4 separate regions of the Homo sapiens genome follow, and regions 1, 2 and 3 are each linked to region 4. The links are contacts of gene promoters, found by promoter capture Hi-C in blood cells and fetal thymus (Javierre and others, 2016). All regions are on one chromosome and are shown on one strand. Each heading gives the region's core, a stretch centred on a gene start or on the middle of the fragment in contact. The rest is flanking DNA. Distances are from core to core; before and after follow the strand shown.

The links. The method cuts DNA at HindIII sites, captures the fragments that hold promoters and counts their contacts. A CHiCAGO score of 5 or more calls a contact.
Region 1: a contact is called between a fragment that was not itself captured here and the fragment with the promoter of PCDH8 in region 4, in 2 of 17 cell types (endothelial precursors and M0 macrophages). The highest score is 5.6, in endothelial precursors.
Region 2: a fragment that was not itself captured here is called in contact with the fragment with the promoter of PCDH8 in region 4 in 1 of 17 cell types (erythroblasts); the score reaches 5.3 in erythroblasts.
Region 3: a contact is called between a fragment that was not itself captured here and the fragment with the promoter of PCDH8 in region 4, in 1 of 17 cell types (M2 macrophages). The highest score is 5.4, in M2 macrophages.

The regions. Positions count from the first base shown.
Region 1 is chr13:52,654,146-52,660,161 of GRCh38, forward strand. It overlaps SUGT1 (SGT1 assembly cochaperone of MIS12 kinetochore complex), which reads left to right. Exons shown (of 13, transcript NM_006704.5): 3 at 3,387-3,477; 4 at 4,254-4,323; 5 at 5,034-5,104. Among named protein-coding and RNA genes, the nearest start is that of SUGT1, 4.3 kb to the left of the region's middle. The HindIII fragment of the contact is 2,415 bases long and covers 740-3,154 here.
Region 2 is chr13:52,619,000-52,625,579 of GRCh38, forward strand. It overlaps a transcript of HNRNPA1L2 not described here. Among named protein-coding and RNA genes, the nearest start is that of HNRNPA1L2, 20 kb to the right of the region's middle. The HindIII fragment of the contact is 3,398 bases long and covers 3,321-6,580 here.
Region 3 is chr13:52,691,146-52,697,385 of GRCh38, forward strand. It overlaps SUGT1 (SGT1 assembly cochaperone of MIS12 kinetochore complex), which reads left to right. Exons shown (of 13, transcript NM_006704.5): 13 at 1-6,240. Among named protein-coding and RNA genes, the nearest start is that of SUGT1, 41 kb to the left of the region's middle. The HindIII fragment of the contact is 3,693 bases long and covers 1,632-5,324 here.
Region 4 is chr13:52,845,954-52,852,429 of GRCh38, forward strand. It overlaps PCDH8 (protocadherin 8), which reads right to left and starts at 2,687. Exons shown (of 3, transcript NM_002590.4): 1 at 1-2,687. The coding sequence starts at 2,483. RefSeq lists enhancers at 872-1,760, 1,761-2,650, 2,781-3,075, 4,421-4,715, 5,390-5,599. The HindIII fragment of the contact is 1,116 bases long and covers 2,297-3,412 here.

The sequences.
Region 1 (6,016 bases), core at 697-3,196, 190 kb before region 4:
AGGAGCCAGGTCCTATAAGGCCTTTTAGGGTCCAGGTGTGTTTTTTACACCTAAATATATAGACCTTTAGATACTGGGAGTAAGGCTTCTGGGATGAGTTTGGGGATAATGTTACAGGAAGCACTGAGAATTTTTCTCCATAATTTCTTGTATTAGCTAGACAGCTATGACTTTTAATTTACATTTGTTATTGTCGTGTTAGACCTAGTGCTTCCTTTGGGAATCCAGTTTATATAAAAGTTGCTTTTAAACAGTATTAACATAATGAATTTTATTGTCACTTTCCATCTTCTTTTACTTTAAAAATTTTTATGGAGGCATATATGATTTATGTAAATAACACAGATTTTAAGTCTATAGTTTGATGAGTTTTCACATGTTTACACCACCAGATTAAGATACAGAGTATCTCCATTCATAATGCTCCTTAATGCGCCTTCTCAGCCAGTAATTCTTCTTACTGTCCTGCTGACTCCTGCTTTGACCTCCATCACCATCAGTTAGTTTTGTTTGTTCTTGACTCATAAACAGAATCATACAGTAGGTGCTTTATTGAATGTAGACACTCTTTTTGCTTTAATGATTACATAAGTATACATTCATATTGTGTGAAGTAGTAGTTCTTTCGCATTGCTGTGTAATATTCCATTGTATAAATATATGTTGTATAGCCGTAAGTACGGCGCAATTTATTCTAACAGTGGACATCTGGGTTATTTCTAGTTATTAGCTAACAAAAAGCTTCTGTGAATACTCTTGTACATGTATTTTGGTGAACACATGCATTTCTTTTGGTTGTATGTACCTAGGAGAAGAATTGCCTAGGATAGTCATGTGGCTAGTATTAGTACCTTGGTTTTTAATGTATGGCTCTTGGACCAGCATTATCAGCATCACCTGGCAATTCATTAGAAGTGCAGCCGGGCGCGGTGGCTCACGCCTATAGTCCCAGCACTCTGGGAGGCCGAGGCAGGCGGATCACGAGGTCAGGAATTCGAGACCAGCCTGGCCAACATGGTGAAACCCCGTCTCTATTAAAAATACAAAAAATTAGCCGGGCATGGTGGTGGGCAGCCGTAATCAGCTACCTGCGAGGCTGAGGCAGGAGAATCACTTGAACCCTGGAGGTGGAGGTTACAGTGAGCTGAGATCGCGCCATTGCACTCCAGCCCAGGCGACAGTGAGGCCAGGCCATCAAAGGCATTAAATCCCAGCACAGGGTTTTCAGTTTTATCATATGATTATGGAGATCCGTCAAGAATTTGGAGGAAGGAAAATGAAATTTTCTGAATTACAAAACCTACTTTAAAAGCAGAGTAGATAGCGAATTGGAGGAGGCACAAGGGATAGTGGATAGCAGGAAGATGGTAGTGCAGACCGGGTCAAAGATGAATATTTGCATGTAGGGCAGTGATTGAGGGCATGGAGGTGAGTTGTTTTATGTAAAATGCACCGGACTTGGTGACGATTAGAATATAAGGGATGTCTCCTGAGTTTCTGGCTGGGGGAATGTTGTAGGAACTGGTGCCATTCATTTAGATAGCACTTAGGATGATAGCACTTAGAAGATTGCCTTCAGCATGGGGGAATAGGTTTGAGGATAGAAAGTAGTTTTAGATTGTGAATATTTGTATATGAGTTGCCTCTGGGACATTTCAGGTAAAGTTTAGAGAAAACTATATGCTGATGTTGCCCAGGACCACTGTCTAGGCTCAAGATAGACTTGAGTCATCAGCATGCATCAACACATATGTGAAGCCCCCCAGTAGTTAAGGAATCAAAGAATGTTTGTAGAGGGGAAGAAGTCTTAAGTACTGAGCCCAAGGAGAACATTAGTTTTTAAGAGGCAGCAGAATGGTAAGCTGAAAGGCCTGGTTATTATTGTCAAGGGCCACAGAGAGATCAAGTCAGATAGGAATCAGTTGGATTTTATAAGGGGTTATTAGTGACTTTGAGAAGATTAAGACTAGAGAGGCAAATATTTTTGTATTCTATGGCAAAGGAGATGCAGTCAAAGTAGAGACTGGGGAAAAGGCTGAAAAAAGTCTGCAAGAAGAAAAATCAATACTTTTCATTGAGTGATTACTGGATGTCACATACAGATCTAGGCAAGCCCAACACCCTGGAGTCATCTTCAGTTTCTCTTATCCCACATGTTCACCCATTAGCAAGTCTCTCTGCTTCTAATATGTTCCAACTTAATCGTATTTCTTTTCATCACCTCTGTGGCTAACATCCTTTTCTAGCCTAGACTTAATGTAATAGTTTCCTAAGAAGTCTCCGTTTCCAGTCTTGATTTGATAATGTATTTACCATACTGCAGCCAGAATGACATTAAAAAAAAGTAAATTGGACCATGTTCCCCTTACTAACAGTGAACTTTCCATGGCTTTCCATCAAACGTAAGGTCCAAATTCCTTATAACTGCCTGCAAGCTACAAAGTGAGGCCCTTAAAGTAGCATCTTACAGCTTCTTTGCTCTCTTGATTTGAGCCTTACTTTCTGTTGATTGACTGTAACCCCATGTGAGTTGAGGAGCATCTGTATATGTTGCTTTCTGAGAGTCACACTACTAGGTTAAAGCAAAGTCAATGATACATGTGGCTCTTGAAATAATTTTACCATTTAAGAAAACTACCAAATCCCTAGAGTTTGTAGGCAGTTGGCAGAAAATAAAAGTGTTCCTGCACTTGTCTTTGATCTCCCTAATTGTGTAATCTCTTACATCATTATTTTTCCAGCTACCACACCTATATGTTGTGACTGCACAAGTTAAAAAAGTTTCAATCTCTAATGTTAACTCTTGGTAGTTGACATAGCCATCTATTAGATTGTATCTGGGCTTTGAACAGAATATTTAGTTGGGTTTTATTAGAGTTGTGTGCTATTGTTAGAGGCTAGGAGAGGGCCAGGTACACTTGATTGTGTATGTATTGATTGTCTTAACCTCCCTGAGTGCTAGATTTAACTTCTGGTCTTTTTTTATTGCACAGCTTAACATTTTCTAGGAATCTCAAATTCTATATGGTGTTTGAATCTTCTTCAAATTAGTAGGAGGAAATCTGTAATGGTCAATGTGTAACAATTAAACTCTTCAGAATATATGAGCTGATAATAATGATCATTTATTAAGTTCTATAGACCAGGAACTAAAAGCTTTACGGTACAGAGATGCTACATTAGATTGCCTACTTTTGGGAGGAGGGGCAAGAGAAGTGGGGGAGATATTGATCCTTTTATAAGGAAAAACTCCAATATTATATCCGTGTTATCTTTCCTCCAAATAGCTTCTGACAATAAGTTACTTGATTAAAAATTATGTTTTAATTAGAATTTGATGGCTTCTTACAAACTTTTACTGACGCTCCACATGTTTGTTTTTGTAGGAGCTGACTAAGGCTTTGGAACAGAAACCAGATGATGCACAGTATTATTGTCAAAGAGCTTATTGTCACATTCTTCTTGGGAATTACTGTGGTAACGTTTCTTATAAAGTATATTGCCCCCTTTTAATAAGTTACTTATACATTTTACCCATGACAAATTAAAAGTTGTCTTTGAGAATTTTTAAATTGGTCTTTTATACAAGGTAAAGTAGCTCAAATGTGACAGACATGTTGAGCAACACCCATTTAAATTTTATGGATGTCGCTTTTTCCTTCATTGGGTGGAGAATGTATACAGATTTCATTCATAGTTATTGGGTATGCTGATAAAAAATAGCATCACATTTACTATTTGACAGACTATTAAAATGAAATGCTCGTTTAAATTTTTTTTATAAAAAAGAATGTGGCCAGGCATGGTGGCTCACGCCTGTAATCCCAACACTTTGGGAGACCAAAGCAGGAGGATCATTTGAGCCCAGGAGTTCAAGACCAGCCTGGGCAACATAACAAGACCACCTGTATTTAAAAAGTAATGTATTTCTGTATTTTGTACCTTCTGAATAGGGAAAAACTGAATACCTTGAGTAAAATTACATAGAAAATGTTAATGAGACAAGGAGGTGAATTTTGTGACACAGCTGTATTCATTGAAGAGCTTTAAGAAGGAAGCTAAATGTTAAGCCAAAAGGAAGGTACAAGAGTAATATTTATTTGAATTCTATCTTGTATTAGCTTTTCCTAATTTAAAACCATTTGGCATTTCTACCAACTTGAAAACTTAGAAATCTAAAACTGATTCATATGTTGTGTGTATTTGCTAGGATCTATAAATAACTGACTAAAAACCCGTCTTTTTCTACACAGTTGCTGTTGCTGATGCAAAGAAGTCTCTAGAACTCAATCCAAATAATTCCACTGCTATGCTGAGAAAAGGGTATGCAGTAGCTACTCTTCTTGTTGAGCTTGGTATAGATAGTAGGTATTTAATTTGTTGAATGAGTTCATTGCAAGCTTTATATAAGTTGTAAAATTCTGTATTTATACATTATATAGCAGAGATATGATTCAATTTTAAATACAACTTATAGTTCTATTATTTTGTTAACCAAAGTATGTGATAGGAGATCTGTACTTAGTAAATTTTAAAATAGTGATGATTGAAGTATTTGCAAGGTATAGATGAAACTGATAGATTTCACATTGCTTTTTTTTTTTTTTTTTTCAATCTTTTGGAATTTACTATATTTAATTGACTGGACAACATCCTATTCAGCAAAGCTGAATAGGCTACATTTAATGCTATGAAAGCGCTATATCTGTATACTTTATATCCCATCTTGTTTCTGTTGATAAGTATAACTATTCTTTAAGAAACTTCTTTAATTCCTTTGTATAATTATATTTTTGAGTAAGCAAGTCTGTACAATTAAAGTCAGATTCCTTCTGAAGTGAGTTCTAAAATTGAATTTTAGTAGGAATTGTACTAGATCTTAACAGTATATTAGAAAGTCTCTAGGTTTATTAACATACACTTAAAATAAATTTTTTCTTTCAACAGTAGAAAATACTAAGTTTTTTATTTAGAAAGAAGGTATTTTCCAGATTTTTTGTGTGTCTTAATTTGTTTTAAATATATTCATGCAGAATATGTGAATACCATGAAAAAAACTATGCTGCTGCCCTAGAAACTTTTACAGAAGGACAAAAATTAGATAGTAAGTATTAAAAATTATACTTTAATAAACTTATCTATTTCTGTCTTAAATACCAAAGCTGAATTTTGGTAATGTTAATTTCAAGTTAATTGTAGAAACCCAATACCTGTTTTTCTCATCTAAATTATATTTCATATTGATTGCAGATATGAGATCACTTAAAATCGATTAAATTAGCCTTTTGGCATTTAAATCATAGATGAACTTCACCATTAGAAGTAAAAAAAACTATGGAAACACCTAACATGCTCTCTCTGTTTAGTCTGGCTTTGTTTTTTTCTAATGGAGAAGTGAAAGTTTAATTTGCCTTGGTCAGAAGTCTGTTCATTTTAAATTATTCAGATTGCTGAGATGTGAAATCTTAACATTAAAGGTTTTTATGGAGAAGTGAAGTGTACGTTTGGGTAAATTATGAGAGGGTACAGAAGAAACACAGTTTTGAGAGTATTGTGACTTTTAATGTTATATTCTTGAGGGAATATATGAAAAGTATCACAGTGGTGTGGATATCTAGACATATAGAAATTGTGAGAGTCAAGAATATATATATATATATATATATATATTTTTTTTTTTTTTTTTTTTTTTTTTTTTTTTGAGACGGAGTCTCACTCTGTCGCCCAGGCTGGAGTGCAGTGGCGCGATCTCGACTCACTGCAAGCTCTGCCTCCCGGGTTCACGCCATTCTTCTGCCTCAGCCCCCCGAGTAGCTGGGACTACAGGCGACCACCACCACGCCCGGCCAATTTTTTTGTATTTTTAGTAGAGATGGGGTTTCACCATGTTAGCCAGGATGGTCTCAATCTCCTGACCTTGTGATCCACCCTCCTCGGCCTCCCAAAGTGCTGGGATTACAGGCATGAGCCACTGCACCCAGCCGAGAGCCAAGAATTTTTAAATCTGAAAAATACT
Region 2 (6,580 bases), core at 3,770-6,269, 220 kb before region 4:
AATATTAACTTTATTTTCTTTTTTTGAGACGGAGTTTTGCTCTTGTTGCCCAGGCTGGAGTGCAATGGCACGATCTCGGGTCACCACAATCTCCGCCTCCCGGGTTCAAGCGATTCTCCTGCCTCAGCCTCCTGAGTAGCTGGGATTACAGGCATGCCCCAGCTAATTTTGTATTTTTAGTAGAGATGGGGTTTCTCCATGTTGGCCAGGCTCCAACTCCCGACCTCAGGTGATCGGCCCGCATTGGCCTCTCAAAGTGCTGGGATTACAGGCATGAGCCACCACGCCCGGCCAACTTTATTTATTGTTATTATTATTACTAATTATTTTTGAGATGGAGTCTCACTCTGTGGCCCAGGCTGGAGTACAGTGGCAGGATCTTGGCTCGCTGCAACCTCTGCCTCCCTGGTTCAAGCGATTCTTGTGCCTCAGCCTCCTGAATAGCTGGGACTACAAGCGTACGTTACCACGCCTGGCTCATTTTTGTATTTTTAGTAGAAACGGAGTTTCACTGTGTTGGCCAGGCTGGTCTCGAACTCCAGACCTCAGGTAATCCATCCGCCTCGGCCTCCCAAAATGCTGGGATTACAGGCGTGAGCCGCTGCACCTGACCAGTGTTAACTTTAAGTGTAGAATAATAGGCTGGGCGTGGTGGCTCACGCCTGTAATCCCAACACTTTGGGAGGCTGAGGCAGGCGGATCACAAGGTAAGGAGATCCAGACCATCCTGGCTAACATGGTGAAACCCCGTCTCTACTGAAAACACAAAAAATTAGCCGGGCGTGGTGGCGGGCACCTGTAGTCCCCGCTACTCGGGAGGGTGAGGCAGGAGAATGGCGTGAACCCGGGAGGCGGAGCTTGCAGTGAGCTGAAATCGCGCCACTGCACTCTAGCCTGGCGACAGAGCGAGATTCCGTCTCAAAAAAAAAAAAAAAAAAAAAAAAGAATAATAATTATTTTCTTAGATTGTACCATATATTGAATATTATGAGAGTCCTGTGTACTTATTATGAGGATACTAGTTTGGCAATTGTTTTTTCATTCTAATTTTAAAGTGCCTGATTTGATAGCCTCTGACGTTTTCATAAGCAGATCAGATAGTTTCAGCATTTTTTGAAATTGCCGTTTTCTCTTTCATGCAAGTGTCCTTAGCCTGTGGCTACTATTTTCTGGCTTTGAGAACTTGATATAGTATTTAACCTAAGGTCTGATACAGGCTCTTGAGCTCACCTGCATCAGAAGCACCTGGGTCTTATTTAACATGCTGATTCCTGAACCCCATTCCAAACTTACAAACTAAGAATCTTAGGAATCTGTGTTTTAAGTCAGCTGCCTATGTGATTTGTATAACCTCTAGAGATTCATAACCACTGACCTAACGTCTGTGGGCAGCAGTTTGTTCTGTAAAACGAGAATAATAAAACCTATCCTTTAAGATTGTAAGGATTAAGTAACATAGGTAACATAGCTACTGTAATGTGGTCCCCTGATCAGCAGAATTAGCAACACCTGGGAGCTTGTTAGAAATGCAAATTCTCAAGTGTCTCCTGGAAACAGCTACTGAATCAGAGTAGTTTGGTGGGACCAAAGAATCTGTATTTTAGCAAGGAGCATAGATACTTTCTGTGGGCCAGGCACAGTGGCCCAGGCATGTAATCCCAGCACTTAGGGAAGCCTAGGTGGGTGGTGGGAGTTCTAAGTGGGCAGATCCCAGGAGTTCCTGTGCAACATGGGAAACCCATTTCTACAAAAAATTAGTCCCAACTACTCAGGAGGCTGAGGTGGGAGGATCGCCGGAGCCTGGGGAAGTCGAGGCTGCAGTGAGCCAAGATCACGCCACTGCACTCCAGCCTGTGTGACAGAGCGAGACCCTGTCTCAAAAAAAAAAAAATAATTTCTATATATATTAAAGTGTGAGAAGCAGTGCTGTAGCACATCAGCTTCATATAAGTAGGGACTATGAAATTCTTATTTACTAATATATTGTCAGTACCTAGTATAGTGCCCAGCACAGAGTAGATATTCACTATATTTAATGAATGATTTTTAAATATATTATACCCTCTTACTGAAACTAACACATTCAAAGAGTTTTTAAAGTTCTTTAGTAATCAAGTGCCAAAAGAGGTTTTTAACTCCACAGAATAAAACTGGATATTTGAGTTACTTAGAATTAGGACATCTTTTGCATGAGTCTAGTATAGATGTAATCATTTGTGGTGTTCTCTTTCATAAATGTATCTAATGAGGAAAGCAAAAATGACATTTATAGCCATCGATTATTTTCTTTTCTGTTCCATTTTAGCTTAGCTTACAAGTGGTTATGGGTTAAGTGGCATGTAGCTTGATGAGAATGTTGATCAGATTAAAACAAGACCCACTCAGTTTTTTTTAAAGTAATCTTTTTGATAGAAATTTATTTTTGTATTATTTAATTATAACTTTTTAAAGAGGTGTTATGTTAAGATCAAGGACTTGCAGTCAGTCAGATCTGGGTTTGAGAATAATAAATTGTCATTTATTAACCATGTCAGAGTTTTTCTACCGAACTCTGGGGTAAATGGTGGGAAGGAACAGATTTGGGAGCACCAGCACCCCCAGGCCTCCCCTGGCCACCCCAAGGAGCAGGTGATCAATATCTCAGCATACCTCTACTTATTTGTGGCACCCCAGTGTGTCTTAGGCCTTAATGGGCTGTGAGGTGCATGACCTTAGGTAAGTTACTTCTCTGATTTTCAGTTTCCTTATCTGCAAAATGGAGACCTTAGGGAGTTAATGTGGGTATGAGAAATGTGCATAAAACATATTGCACGAGGTTGAGGCATATAGTATGTGCTAATAAATGGTAAGTTGCTGCTGCTATGGTTGTTAATAATTATAAAAAGCAAATGGAAAGGGCTTGAATTGAAAAAAAATTTAGATACACGGTTTTTTGCTTTATTAGCCTGCATTGTATTTTTCATTTTTTTTCTTTAATGCATCTTTCCAGGACAAAAAATAATATCCAAAGATATTTTGGCACTAACGGCGCTATCTGTAGCAAGAAAGTTGAGCAGTGTGAACTGTTGAGACTTCCAAGGAGACTTCAGACAACCAAGACAGTGTAAAGGAAAACAGAGAAAAAGACTTGTTAGACATTATTAAGGGCACGAAAGTTGAATTGAGCACAGTAAATGTACAAACAACAAAGCCACCCAACAGAAGTTCACTTAAAAGCTACAACTGGCGGGCCTCAAAGAGCTTTAGGACATGCTCCAAAGAAGAGGTAAATTTAATTGTAATTTGAATGTTGTTTGAAAGTAATTTTTAAAATTCCAGTAAGCTTTTTCTTTTTGCAAAAAATGTTTTTAGTACAAGTACTTGGGAGATATTGAATTAATGAAGAAAAAAATATCAGCTAATAAACACAGGGAGTCTAATAATTACTTGAGAAATGCTGTAATTGTATTATATTTAAATAACAAGAGGATATCTGTACACAATCCAGTGAAAGGAAGAGAGAAGTGATCTCATTGAGAATTCTACACTCTTACATACTTATTGGTGTTATTAACTGCTACTTAACTGCCTCTTTAAGCTGTTAATTAACAATATCATTTACATCTTGATTTGAAGGTAGCTTCATGTCTGTAAAGGACTCACTTATTTGAAATTTTCCATTTAAAAAATTTTTTCTGGAATAAAGTTTAGCACGTTGATTACAACTGCTCTGTATGACTTCCTGTGACCAATAACTATCCGTGCTTTCAGCTTTCCTGGCTTCCTCAGAGCATTGTAATTACTTGTGCTTGTCAAAAGAGTATTTAATTCTAAGTGCAATCAGTAATATCTTGGCATTGTGTTGTAGGTTAAATGGCAGTTTTTTTTTTTAATGATACATAATGATGTATTTCAGGGATGTCATTAATTCAAGTAGTAAGGTGTGTGGCTTTAGGATACCCATCACTGACTTCCCTTATCAGAACAAACAGATAATATAGGCTTCTGTTTTCCAGAATGATTTAACATTTTAATGGAACTTCTTGGTTTCTACATGGTATCAAAAATACCTCTGGAAAGTATAATTGGGTGGTAGAGTAAGCTAATTCAGACAATCAGTACCCATAATAGGTACTTCCTCCTCGTCCTACTCTTTAGAAACAAAACAGTTACATATAAGTATGTGGAAGTAAATAACACAAACATATAAATACATATCAAGAATGGCATTTTTAAGGCTACCAGACCTGTTTATGACCCCTCATGCCCTTTATTTTAATTTAATTAACTATTACAGAAATGGTAAAGTGAGTTGAATGCTTTGGAAAGAGTCAGTAAAGGTCACGTAAACAATTTCTTTCCAATTAGGCATGAGTGAGACAAATATACATACGCAGGAGCATCATACCCTTAGATTGCTTTGTAAGCTATCTCACATTCTTGCTCCACTTTTCCACTTAAACCAAAATTGAAAATATTGCAGGATGGGTGTGATGTATGTAAAATATATGCCTTAGAACCTTTTATCAGTGGTCCTGTGTTTAAAAAAGAGGCTTTGGTCCTACATCAAAAGACTGGTGAACAAGGTGCATCTGTTTTGAGTTTTTAAAAGGTGTCTTTTAATGATTTTTGCCTCCCCTCCCCGCTTTTCAAGGACTTCCAGGATGCATGGGATTAGATGAGTCATGATCTTTGCTTCATGAGGCACTGTCATCATAGCTTCATGCATAGCCTGCTTTTCTTTCTTTGTATTATATATTAAATCCCCATTGATATGGTTACCATAGTTACACTACCTCCCAAACTTAGTGGCATAAAACATTCACTCATTATGCTCACAGATTCTGTGGGTTAGCAGTTTGGCTGGAACACAGCGGGGAAGGCCAGTCTGTGCTCTATGATGTCTGGGTCCTCAGTTGGAAGACTTAGAAATCTGAGGCTGGAATCATCTGAAGTTTGCCCACTCATAGGTCTGGCAGTTGATGCCAGCTGTCAGCTGAGACCTTAGCTGAGGGTGTTAGCAGAAACACCTACATGTGGCTTTCTTTGTGGCCTGGGCTTTCTCACCGCATGGTGGCTGGGTTCCAGGGTGGGTGTCTCAAGAGAAAGTGAGCCAAGAGGAAGTTGTATTTTGTTTTGTTTTGTTTTGTTTTTGAGATGGAGTCTCGCTCTGTCACCCAGGCTGGAGTGCAGTGGCGCGGTCTTGGCTCACTGCTATCTCCACCTCCTGGGTTCAAGCAGTTCTCTGCCTCAGCCTCCCGAGTAGCTGGGATTACAGGTGCCTGCCACCATGCCTGGCAAATTTTTGTATTTTTAGTAGAGATGGGGTTTCACCATGTTGGCCAGGCTGGTCTTGAACTCCTGACTTTGTGATCCACCCTCCTCGGCCTCCCCAAGTGCTGGGATTACAGGCACGCCACCGTGCCTGGCCAGTTGTATTTTCTTTTTAATGACCTAGCCTTGTAATAAGATTGGACATTACCATGTTTACCCTCTTCCACATTGATTTTCCTAGGATATTTGTTTTTACCACAACCACTTCTGAGACACCGTCTTAACAAGGATAATGTCATTGATAGGAATGGAGTAATATACATTTGGCCCTCTGTATGCGTAGGTTCTGCATCCACAGATAACTTCTGATAACGTTTTTTAAGAAACACAGAAAAAAATACCAATTAAAAAATACAGTATAACAACTACTTATGTAGCATTTGTTATATTAGGTATTACAAGTAATCTAGAGATGATTTAAAAGTATTCTCGAGGGGCCTGGAGCAGTGGCTCATGCCTGTAATCCCAGCACTTTGGGAGGCCAAGGTGGGCAGATCACTTGAGGTTAGGAGCTGAGACCTACCTGATCGACATGGTGAAACCCTGTGTCTATCACAAAAATACAAAAATTAGCCGGGTGTGGTGGCATGGGACTGTAATCGCAGTTACTCGGGAGGCTGAGGTGGGAGAATCCCTTGAACCCGGGAGGTGGACAATGCAGTGAGCCGAGATTGTGCCAGTGCACTCCAGCATGGGCAACAGAGTGAGACCCTATCTCAAAATAAAAAAAAAAGTTATGAAGGGGAAAAGTATGTATTCATGAAATAGTTTTAATTACAGGATTGAATAGATTGTTAAAAGATACTTTTTTTTTTTTTGAGATGGAGTCTTGCTGTTTTTTGCCCAGGCTGGAGTGCAGTGGTGTGATCTCGGCTTACTGCAACCTCCGCCTTCTAGGTTGAAGCGATTCTCCTTCCTCAGCCTCCTGAGTAGCTGGGATTACAGGTGCACTCCACAATGCCTGGCTAATTTTTTTGGTTTTAGTAGAGATGGGGTTTCACCATGTTGACCAGGCTGGCCTCGAACTCCTGACCTCAGGTGATCCACCTGCCTCGGCCTCCTAAAGTGCTGGGATTACTGCCATGAGCCACCACGAAGCCCTGAAAGATACTTTAACAAGTTCTCATTACATTGTTAAAATCTATGAAGAAAGATCCTTGTATGTAAAAATTATCTTGTTCAATGACACAGGCTCCCTACAATTTTTATTAATTAGAACTTTATAAATTATAAAGCCAGAGACTATAACTATGAAGGAAATTATTGT
Region 3 (6,240 bases), core at 2,228-4,727, 150 kb before region 4:
CTAATTTTTGTATTTTTTTTGTAGAACCGGGTTTCACCATGTGCCCAGGCTGGTCTTGAACTTCTGGGCTCAAGTTATCTACCTGCCTCAGCCTACCCAAAGTGCTGGGATTACAGGAGTGAGCCACCATGCCCAGTTATGAACTTCAAGTAAATATTTAAAATGGAGATACATCACAATGCTATTATGAATAATTTAGATAGAAATTTTAATTTAGTTCAGTACTTAAATATTTTTTGGCTCTTCTTTCCCACTTTACCTTTCTCTATTCCTTCCTCAGTTATCTACATATCAGATTAGATTATTGATATCTGAGATATATCACTGACCCAGAGCAAAATTGCATATTAGTTTACCATCTAATCAGCCTAATGCACTTAAATTCCCTTGGAATCTTTCCTGTTCAGATTGGTGTGCATCTCTCTGAACTTGTAGCTTTACTGACATTTCCAAAAAAAGGTAGACGGTTTCTAGGTGGTGTGTGTTTTTGTTAGTTACTAGAGCCACTTACCCTTTGTAACTAGCTCTAAAGAAGTACATCTTTTGCTCATACCTGCTACTGTAACCATATGACAGTATGGATTTAAGTTATTTCTGCCTAGAGGAATTAGATGATAAAAGCTAAAAGGACAAAATACTGGTTTCTGTGCAGGGAAGGGTCATATGTAGTTTTAAATAAAAGGGTTCATCTCTTTTGATGTGGTTTCCCTTTCTCCATCTGTGCATTTTTTAAATCGTAAGATCATTTTACACACACCAAGAGATTTTATTTTGGGAACTTGTGGGGAAAATATTGATTTACCTACAAATGTTACTATTTGGAGCCATCCTTGTGATTGGTTTCTGAGATTAATTTAACTCTTAGCCTCACTTCCTACCTTAGTAAAGTTGCTCCTCCAAATCAGCTAAAATCATATACAATGAATGCTGACTCATTACTGCAAATAGTGGTAGTTACTGTGTACTAGCATTTCTTATGGATTGGGTGGCATTATCTCATTTTTAATCGCCCTTCAATAGCATCCCATTATTGCAAATCAGAAAGATGATGGGGCCAAAGTAAAGTTCTTTGCCCAGGTCACTCTACTAGTAAGTAATTGCAATAGCTGGGATTTGAACCCAGGCCTATCAGACTCCATTACCCATACTTCTGACAACTGCAATCCTCTCATCAGGTTAATAAGCTAGATGTGGAATGAATGATTTTTATTACCAAATCAGCTGACTGGAAATGAAGCAGAGAATATTCAAGTTAAAGAACTAATTCTTTTTTTTTTTTTTTTTGAGACAGTCTCACTCTGTCGTTCAGGGAAGGAATGCAGTGGTGCAATCTTGGCTCACTGCAACCTCCACCTCCCAGGTTCAAGTAATTCTTCTGCCTCAGCCTCCTGAGTAGCTGGGATTACAGGCATGGGCCGCCATGCCCAGCTAATTTTTGTATTTTTAGTAGAGACGAGGTTTCACCATGTTGGTCAGGCTGGTCTTGAACTCCTGACCTCATGATCCGCCCACCTTGGCCTCCCAAAATGCTGGGATTATAGGCGTGAGCCACTGTGCCCAGCCAAGAACTAATTCTTATATAGGAGCTGGGAAGATAAATTCCTAGAGATCCTCACTTTCTTAAGTAGGAAAGCTTATTAGGAATCCAAATCTTTTGCCTCATACTGGAAGTAATGCAAAGAAGTAGTCTGATTTTTGAGAGGGTGCTGTTTTTCTCAAATCTAGATCATTACAGAGAAACAGTGTACTTTTAACAACTGTTGCATGTGTAAGAAGACTGGTACATGATGCCAATGAAATTCTTTTTTTCCTTTAACTTGGGAGCTCTCATACCAGTTCCGTTGTACAAATGCTGAGATTGTTTCAAGGTTTTATTCCTACAGACATGTTAGGATTTGTGTATCACTGATTTCTCCAATAAAATTTGAATATTTCAGGTTATTTCCTTTTTCCTAACTTATGTTAGCATTTTGTATATATATATATATTTGAATTTTGGCTTGTCTGGAGTCTTAAATATTTGGTATGCCTTCACATTTGGATTTTTAGTTTTATTTTTACATTGAGACTTCTACCTATATCATTGACTTTATTTTTTCCTATGATTAAAGGATTCAGTTATACAAAAAGATGTTTCAGAAACACTGCTATTTACCTAAAGGTAATTTTCAGTTTCTTTAGAAGGAGTTAGGAAAATGGTCCTTAATACCTATATAGGGTTTTTTAAAAAACTGTACCCTATAATGCAGCCACAGAAGATCTAAATAATAAACAATTGCGCATACTATTAATATATATTTAGAGCTTTTGTTAAGTACATGAAAAGACAGTATTGCATAGTGGTTAAATGCATGGACTCTGAAGCCATCCTGTTTGGGATCATCCTGGCTACATTGCTTACTAGCTGTGTGACAATGGATATAGGTGCTTAATGTCTCTGTGCCTCAGTTTTTGTGTCTATGTAAAGGAGATAATAGGATCCCCCTCATGCCTCATGGTCTTAGTTGAATGAATTCATGTAACTCCACAGGTATCTTAATCCAGAAGGCTCAAAATACTAATGTTTTGTGTGTGTGTGTGTGTGTGCATGTGCATCTGTATGACAAGTGATATAAAACGTGACCTGAATTTATAATATGAATAGTCACATTTTGCAGCAGAAATATTAAATGTTTAATTATAGAATGCTAGCACTGATCCTGCTGAAATTGTTACAAAATACAGCAGTTGCCCCTTAACTGTGGCAGATACATTCCAAGACCCCCAGTACTGAATGCTGTATGTACATTTTTTATACATGTATACTTATGATAAAGTTTATAAATTAGGCACAGTAAGATATTAATAATAGAATATACAATATACCGCAATAAAACTTATGTGAACAGTTATTTTTGGACAGCAGTTGACTGTGGGTCACTGAAATTGTGGAAAGCAAAACCATGGATAAAGGGGAACTATTAATAGTCTATCTGTATTGCATTATCTTCTAAAATCCAAAATTCTGACTTCAAAAACTCATCTGAGGGTTTTGGAATTGTGTATCTATGTGTGTGAAGTGCAAAGAGCAGTGCTTCATGTGACAGATAACATCAGATGATCCTAGGCTGGAAGGTGGAAATCCTAGAGAAGATTTTTTTGTGTTGTAAGTTCAGTCTTTCAAGATGTGGAATTCTGTCTGAGGAAAGTATATCACCTAGTTAACAATTGTTACTGTAATTTATAAAATTTGTACTTTGGAGAGCATAAGAATTCATGAAAAGTTTTTAATAATTTTACTTAAACAGAGCTTAATTATGTAAGTATTGTCAGCACTTTATAAAGAATCGTAAAATAAAATAGTGGCAGAAAATATAAACTAGATGTAGAATGTTAAGGAACTTTCGGAAGTTCTCTGGTTTTCATTTCAATTTCAAAGCTCAAAACAGAAGGTAAAACTATTAGGATTTGTGAAAAATACAAGGTACAAAATCACGCAGTTTATAAACCACAGATTGTCTTGTTATTCCCATCAGTGAAAAGAAGCTGATATTTGTTTGTGTTTGTTTTTGTTTTTGTTTTTGAGACGGAGTCTTGCTCTGTCGCCCAGGCTGGAGTGCAGTGGCGCCATTTTGGCTCACTGCAAGCTCCGCCTCCCGGTTCACGCCATTCTCATGCCTCAGCCTCCCAAGTAGCTGGGACTACAGGCGTCCGCCACCATGCCCGGCTAATTTTTTGTATTTTTAGTAGAGACAAGAGTTTCACCGTGTTAGCCAGGATGGTCTCATCTCCTGATCTTGTGACCCGCCCGCCTCGGCCTCCCAAAGTGCTGGGATTACAGGCGTGAGCCACCATGCCCAGCCTGCTGGTAGATGTTTTTATGAGTTAATTCATCAATCTTATTATTCTTGCCCCAAATGAATCAGTGTGGAGCATATACAAGTGTGTAGACATTAATATGGGCTCACTGTCAGCTGGGAGTTCTCACAACTACCACTTTTTACTGATTATCTGTTTTCTAAACTTTTTCTGTGGCTTGAAGTGACTGAAAGTGAACACATTCATAAGTAATGAGCTTAGGCTGAGGATATATATCCAGTGGGGGATGAAACATGCTTAAGAAATTGAGTGCATTTCCTTTATTATTGTTATTATTTTGCTATTTCAAAACAATTGACTTTAAAAAATTATACTTCACCACAGAGACAGGTGTTGTTTTGTAATGGAAGGAGTAGTAACTTATGAATCTAGACTCTTAAAATCCCAGTTCTGATACTTTCATAATTGTGTGTTTTGAGGGCAAGTGACTTATCTGAACTTTTTTCTTTTTTATAACACTGGATGATAATTAACCCTCAGGATTGTGAGGATTTAATAACTAAGTCCTGACTCAAATTATGTTACCAATAAATGCTACTTAAATGTAAAGTCCTTGATTTATTTTTTCCCCTCAGTCCTGTTTAGTGTTGAAATTCTTCAAAGGAGGGTGAGTCTGGCATTTACCTGCTATTCAAGAGTTTTCAGAATTCAACCCCAGCCAAAATTTTTGGCCACATCTCTTGTCACTGCTTTGCTGTGTACTAAAGCTCCCAGACACACAAGAATCTTCTAGTCATGGTCAAACTTTTTCTGCAAAGGGCACTTACAGTCTATTGCATATTCTTTGTTTTTAGTGTTCAGACATCTGCTGTTTCTGAATATGTCGTGTATTTTCATTCCTTTTTCTGCCCCTCCTGGGCATCTCCAGTTTCCTACTGATGTGTCAAAACTGAGTTTGTATGCTACCTCCAGGAAAGCAGTCTAATCTTTTGCAACTCTGTTACTGACTTTTGTGGCATTGGATTGGGTTATTTGCTTATGGTTGAGACATCACTGGATCCTTTGATGGAGTCATACCAAAACCACAACATGTCATGAGCATGCTTGAGAGTGCTAATCTATTCCTTGTTTGTCAGACCAGTACATTACAGTTGGTTCATTTCTTCCCCCGTGTGACTGAGTTTCTTGAGGGCGCGGTCTAGCTTCCATCTTTGTATGTGTAGCACCTGGTACATAGAGAACAGGCTCCCAGAATTGGATGGATTTGCTCATGGTCTTATCACTGCACAGAATGCCCTTATTTTCTTCCATTCATTCTATGAGATCTCAATTAAAATGTCAGTACTCTTGTGGAACTCCCCTCTCCATGCCCTCTACTGAAATGCATTGCCACTCTAGTTGTGATGTGGGAGTGCCTTGTTTATGCCTCTATTTATGACACCTTCATGGTGTCACATGTTATAGGGTTAGTTGCGGCTGTGTCTGTTTTACCTTGTGTGTCTTGGTCAGTTAGTGTTATTTACTTAAGCTTTGGATCTTTGATACATAGCGTAGTGCCTTTCACATAGTATGTACTCAAATATTGGAAGTTACTCATCCCAAACCATAGTGTTTAAAATTGGGGTTTTTTAAAAATGTCAAGCCCTTAAAGTTGATCATTTATTTGTCAATGTAAATAGAATAGTAATTTGTTTTCAAAAAGATGAGGTCTTGCTGTGGTGCTCAGGCTGGAGTGCAGTGGCTGTTCACAGGCGTGATAATTGTGTGTTACAGCCTCAAAGTCCAGGGCTCGAGTGATCTTCTCACTTCAGCCTCCTGAGTAGCTGAGACTAGGCGTGCACCACCGTTTCTGACAGGATTTTAATTTTTAAGTAGGTTTTTAACCCACAGCCACGAGAGCTAATTTTAACTACATTGTTAGAGGTAGTAACAGTTATATAACTAATCAAAACCAGTGTGATATCCAAGTACTTTTTTTTTTTTTTTTTTTTGCTATTTAATTTTGAGATACCATTTTTTGGAGGGGTGTCCTGATTTATTTTATTTATTTTATTTATTTATTTTTATTTTTTATTTTTTTAGATAAGGTCTTGCTCTTGCCCAGGCTGGAATGTAATGGCATGGTCGCAGCTCACTGCAGCCTCCGTCTTCTGGGCTCAAGCAATCCTCCTTCCTCAGCCTCCTGAGTAGCTGGGACTACAGGTGTGTGCCACCACTCCCAGCTAATTTTTAAATTTTGTGTAGAGATGGGGTCTCCCTGCATTGCCCAGGTTGGTCTCTCAAACTCCTGGGTTCAAGCAGTCCTCCCACCTTGGCCTCCCAAAGTGTTGGGATTATAGGCGTAAGCCACTGTGCCCGGCTGTTTTTTGTTTTGTTTTGTTTTGTGTTTTAATTGAACGGACTGAAGTTTACTTTCTAACTAGGTTAGCCCTCCATTCATAC
Region 4 (6,476 bases), core at 1,437-3,936:
CCGGTGCCAGGGAAGGTGAGCACGTCGAACATGTTGGGCCTGGGCCCGGCTCCCCGGGCGGCCTCCTCCGGGGAGCCGGGAGCCGAGGCTCCGCCGCCCGCCGCCCCGGGCCGCTCTTCCCGGAGGGCCCCCCCTTTGCGCACCTCCTTCTTGCGGCGGTTGCAGGTGGTGGCGATGGCGATGATGGCGGCCAGCAGCAGCGTGCAGCTCCCGGCCAGCACGATGATGACGATCAGCGGCGTGTCCCATTGCAGCACCGACCCGGACACCCCGAGCCGAGAGCCAGGCGGGCGGGAACGCTCCGGGCTTCCTGCACTGGCAGGCGCAGCCGGCCCACGCCCGCCCCCTGCTGTTACCACGAAGCTGACAGTTGCGGTGGTGGTGAGCGGGGGACGGCCGCCGTCGGATATGACCAGGAGCGCCCTGAACACGCGACCGGGTGGCTCCTGCGAGAGGTCGCCGGTGAGCAGTATCTCCCCCGTGCGGCGGCCGATGGCGAAGGCTTCGCGCGGCTCCTGCTGCTGCAGCTCGAACGCCAGCTCCCCGTTGGCTCCCTCGTCTGCATCCCGGGCCTGCACACGGGCCACAACCGTGTCCTTTGCGGTGCGCCCAGGCACCGCCACTTCTAGGGAGCCATTGGCTGGCGCCGGGTGCACCAGGACTGGCGCATGGTCGTTCTGGTCCAGCACGCGCACTTGCACTAGGGCGCTGCTGGAAAGCTGAGGGGAGCCGCCGTCGCTAGCTTGGATGCGAACGTCGAGTTGGCGCAGCGTCTCATAGTCGAAGCTGCGCAGCGCGTAGATGGCTCCGGTAGCTGGGTCCACCGAGACATAAGTGGACACGGCGCCCCCGGCGCGGCCCACCTCGGCCTCCAGCAGCCGGTAGGTGACCTGGCCGTTGCGGCCCAGGTCCCGGTCGCGGGCGGCCACCGTGGCCAGGTAGGCGCCTGGCGGGTTGTTCTCGCGCACCGACACCTCATAGACCGGCCGCGTGAAGAGCGGCGCGTTGTCGTTCTCGTCGCCCACACGCACCGTGTAGGGCCGCACTGTGCGCAGCGGGGGCGCGCCGCGATCCTCGGCCACCAGCGTCAAGTTGTACTCGGCGATGCGTTCGCGGTCCAGCGACGCCGCGGTCACCACCAGGTAGCTGCCCGCGTAGGCCGGCTGCAGCCGGAAGTGCTCGTGCCCATAGAGGGCGCAGCGCACTTGCCCGTTGGCGCCCGAGTCCCTGTCCGAGGTGCTGACCAGGGCCACCAGGCTCTCGCGCGCCGCCCCCTCCGGCACCAGCGAAGTGGCACCAGCCTCCGGCGTCCCGGCTCCCGCCGGCGAGCTAGCGTCCGCTCCCCCGAGTGCAGCGGCGGCGGCGGCAGCGGCGAAGGGTGAGGTTGCCGGCGCGCCTGGGGCGGCCAGCGGGGTGATGGCGATGTCGGGTGCGTTGTCATTGACGTCTCGGATGCGCACGATGACCTTGCAGGTGGCAGCGCGGGGCCCGGGTCCGCGGTCCTGCGCCCGCACGTCCAGCTCGTAGGTGTCCTGACGCTCGTAGTCCACGGGCCCGGCCAGGGTGAGGCGGCCTGATCGCGGGTCAAGCCGAAAGAGGCGGCGCGCCTCCGGCGGGGTGCGGGCGCCAAATGCGAACACCACGTCGCCGTTAGGTCCCTCGTCGGGGTCGGCTGCGTCCAGGTCGAGAAGCAGGGAGCCCACGGGCGCGTCTTCCGCCAGCTCCACTTCGGCCACGGCGCCCTGCGGGAAGGCCGGGCTGTGGTCATTCGCATCCAGGACGCGCACGCTGAGGGCAGCCGTGGCGGAGCGCGGCGGGCGGCCGCCGTCCTGGGCCACCAGCTCCAGGCTGTAGGCGGCCTGGCTCTCGCGGTCCAGCTCCTGCAGCAGCACCAGGTCTGCGCACTGAGCGCCGTCCGCTCGCGTCTGCAGCTCCACGCGAAAGGGGCTGTGCGGCTCGGCCAGGCGCACGGTCTGCAGCCCGTTGGCGCCCACGTCCTCGTCCACCGGCACCTCCAAGGGGATGCGCGTGCCCACTGCCGCACCCTCGGACACCTCTACCGGGATCTGGGCCCTGGGGAAGCGCGGCGCGTGGTCGTTGACGTCCCTCACCTCTACCTCCACGTGCACCAGCCGGAACTGCTCCTGCGAGAAGCTGACCACATCGAAGGCCAGCACGCACTGCGGGGCCTGGCCACACAGCCGCTCGCGGTCCAGGCCGGCGTCCCCGACGGTCAGCTGCCCGTCGCCTTCGCGCACCCGGAGCAGAGAGCTGTTGAATTGCTTCATCAGGCGGAAGCTTGTGTCACCCGATACTTTCATATGCAGGTCCTCGGCCAGGGTCCCGATGACCGTGCCGGGGGCATCCTCCTCGAAGGTGCTGTATCGGACTGTTTTGCTCTGGGCCACTGAGAGCACCCAGCAGAGGCTGAAGAGCTGCAAGGGGAAAAGGCAGGGGCTGCCCCAACGCCTCACAGGACTCATGCCTCCAGCCTCAAGTGCGATCCGAAAGGCTAAGGAAGTCTTCTCTGGTTTCCAGGTCGGGCGTCAGTCTCAGGCTCTCGGAATCACGCTCTTTGCGAGCCCTGTGCGGGAGAAGTCTGCGGGTAGCAGCTCCGAGCCTCCAGCGGGCTCTGAGGACGCGCGGACCCGCCCTCACTCTGCGCCTCTCCGTCTCTTACAGAAGCTGCGCCGCCTCGCGCCGCCTTTGCCTTTATAGCCGCCGATATGCTAATCACCCGAGCCGGGTAGCCAATGGCCGCCTCCCCCTCGCGTCGCCCCTCCGCCTGCCTCTGACAATCCCTTTAATGTGGAAAGGCTTAGAGGGGAAAACAAGAAAGGAAAATTAGGGAATCTTTCTTTTGTTTAACTCCTTTTGCTTTTTCCCCCTTTTCTTGTCAGCACCCTGCATGTAGAGGAGTTGGCACAGGGCTCCAGGAGTAAAAGGAGCGGATGGTTTTGTTAATTGTCGCCTGCCTCCCTCCGTGCCGCGGCTAGAACTAAGTGCGAACACGCTGGGGTTTCACCCCAGTGGCTCCTGATTCCGCCTTCCCCCAGCCCCTGCCAACACACACACTCTGCATTTTGCACCTCTGACGCTTCCAAACCCTTGCAGCCCCCTACCCACAGACTTGCTCTGCTGAATGAGGCTCTGCTTTCCTTCTCTCCTAGCTACGGTGCCTGGAATAGCCTCTCGATTAAGAAGCCTGAAGGATAAGGGAAAATTGATTTTATTCAAATTTGTGTACTCAATTGTGTTTTGCTCGTGTGAGCCCCAGTGATCAGAGCTGCCACTTCCCTTTCAGAAAAGAGCCCCGCGATATGTTAGTATGCACGTCACTGTCCAAGTGGCCTTCTTAAGCCCTGGGAGCTAGCAGGCAAGGAAAAAAAAGTTCCAAATAGGATTTAGCATAAGCTTGAGGAGATTTGGAAAGGTTTCAAAGATCAGACTGTATCAAAGGCTTATGAAGCCCTCGTTAGCAGTGGAAATAGAATGGTGTGGCAGGCGATCCCATTGGAGGCCCCAATGTCTGTATTATTTCACTGTGACAAGCTAAGGGGAGAGAAAGTTGAACAGTTTCCACAGCGGAGTTGGACTAACTTGAATATAATGAGCAAACGCCACATGTATCCATTATGTTCCTCTATTCATCCCCAATCACTGCCATAACTCTCCGGCTAAACGGTGATGGGCGCTGAATTCCACACAATACCCGGCTCGTATTAAAGTGCATTTAGAGAACTTTTTCCTCCTGATGCCTTGTTCCGCCTATTTAGAGGATTTTCTTTCTGTTCTAATAGGGCCACTCTGGGAAGCAACACTCGTCCGGTTCCAGAAGAACAAAATCACAGCGTGACGTTGAAACCTGGCAGGAACGTGGGGGGAACTTAACCATCTGCTTAGGAAAGTGTGGAGCTTCGGCACTGCCAAAATCTGGGCTGGGCGGATCCTGGGGCTGGCCGGGCGCTGCGCTGCCCCACAGATAGCCCCCTCCCATCCCTGACGGCCAGGGAGATGGAGCTCGGATCTGCAACAAGACGGATTCTTAATGATTCTTACTGAAGGGCTTTATTGAGCAGGCTATGCAAATACACACGAAGGAGGAAAGGTAAAAAACAAAAGCCACTCACTGGAAGAAATTTTTCTTTTTAGGCGATAGGTTTGGTAAGTAGATTGAATTCAGTAAACATTCTTCAGAATCCCGATTTTGGTCCTGCTGTCAGCGTCCTATCCATGTTTTCCTTTCCCTCAAACTCGAGGGAGTGTGTTTTGGGTTTTTTTTCAGAAGAGGGTCAGGAGTTTCCTTGGAGTAGGGAGACCAAGCAGGGAGCTGGGTGGCAGGGATGAGAGGTGCTTGGAATTGTCAGAGAGCGGAACATGCAGCTCCAGCCATCCATAAATACAAGCTCTTATAAGACTGGGGAGGGGGATGATGAGTGGCTGGAGACTTCCTCAGAGGGGTGTGTCTCTGGGTTCCCTTCTCCACCTCTTCCACCTTGTAGTCTTGGGAATGCTAAAAGCAATAAGGCCAGGCATCTGCAGCCGCGTGGGGACGTGGAAGGAGGAGCGCCCCCTACAGGAGCCCAAATCGCAGCCCTTTCTTCCGCTGTCTTCCATCTCCCAAGTGCGATTTAGTATGTAGCCCTCCCACCGTCCCCGCCCAAGAGATATTCCTTGGGGGGTACACGCAGTCGAAGGAACTTTCTATTTTCCTTCCGAGCCCCGCAACACTCCCACCCCAACCTGGGGCTGGCTGGTGACCTTTAGCGCCCCTAGGCTAACGTCATCTCTCCTCACCCCTCTTCCCCCGGAGACCCAGACGGGAACAGGTTCAGAACTTGGCTGGTGGACAGCGGCCTCAGCGCTTCCGCTGGCGTACCCAGGGCAAGGTCAGGCCCGCCTGGCGCTGCTGCTGCCGGGCGGAGGACCCGGAAGGTGGGGAAAGTGGGTGGAAATGGGGCCGGAGTCCCAAAGGAAGGGATTTCAGCGGTTTCCGCGAGCACAGCCCGGCCGCGAATGGCTGGGACCCGGACCTCGCGCCAGCGCCCCCTGCGCATCTGCACCCCGCAGTTCTGGGCTGGACTCGGGAGCCCCGCCACGCGCTAAGTTTGGGTTTTTCGCTTGGCCAGAGATTCGGAACTACTTGCAATTTCTACTCAAAGTGCTTCCGCGTCAGCATGCTCATTCTCAAGGCTGAAATAAACCAAGGCGTGCTTGAAAGTGGGAAAAGGAAAGGGGAGTAGGGGCAGGCAAAAGCCAGGAGGCGGGAGGAGGGGTGTAGGGTGGCTGGTAGCAGGTCTAAAGTGTTTTTTCCGCGGCCAGGCCCTCGTCGATCGGAAGTAGCCACGACGGCGGCGGCGCCGGGAGGCTGAGAGCTGGGAGCCGGGGAGCCCGGGAAGGGAGCCGCGAGCCTCCAGCCGCCACCGGCGCGCACAGGTCTTTCCGTGCCGGCGGTGGAGGTGTGAAGGCACGCGAACACCGTGAGCTCCGGGCCGGCAGCGGACAGCCACTCGATTATGGAAATACGATTTAAAATAGCACATCAACGTCCGCAGCAACTCCCCGGGAAGGAAAATATGTCCGGGGAGGTGGCGCTGGAGAGGAGTAGGGGAAAGGGAGGGGAGCTCGCCCGCCCGGGTGCTGATCAGGCCTCACAAAAGCCGCTCGAATCGCCTTGTTATCATACCAAAAGGTCTGGGCAGGCCCAAAGGAGCCCCTTTCTCTCGGTTTTAGCAACTTCGCCGGCAACTGTCTCGCAATCTTGAGAACAAACACAGCTCCACAATGGCCGGCGTTTTCTCGGAATGCAAATGTTGCGGGCTCCGCAAAGCTGGGTTTCTGTTACCGAGCCTAATGCCGGCATTGTGAAACTCGCGTGCAAACACCAAGATTGACATGGGCGTCACGTGATGGATTAGGGCTCCAGGAAAGTTTTCAAAGAGGCGACAATGGGGGGCTCAGACTGATCTGATATCTCCCACAGTTTAGCGGGAAAGAAAATCAGGATATATTCTCATATGTAATAGGATTATCTTGTCCATTTCAAGTTCTATACAGCATGTAATTTATTTTTAATTAGGATTATATCTACCAGGAAAGGGTACTAGACTTCACTGGAAAGTGTAATTCTAAGGATGGATGAAGAGGGGTTATTTTTTAAACTTTTACTTTTTTTTTTCCTTTAAAAATAAGCCCAGGGCCCTGGTTTTTCCTCCTACAGGCTCACCATTGGGTAAACCCCTCAGGGAAGTTTGCAGCAAGTGCTTGGCCAAGCAAAGAACAGAGGAAGCTCTTCGGGGCATCTAATTCATTTTTGTAGTGAAAACACACTTTGCAAAAATCTCATCAAATTCTGAAGCCTCTGGGTTTTCTGGGGTTGGTGCACTAGAAATGCAACCAAGCTGTTTTCTACACTCCAAATTCTTTTTTTTTCTTTTTTTTTAAAGTTATCTCTCTCTGTGTGTGTATTTGTTGGG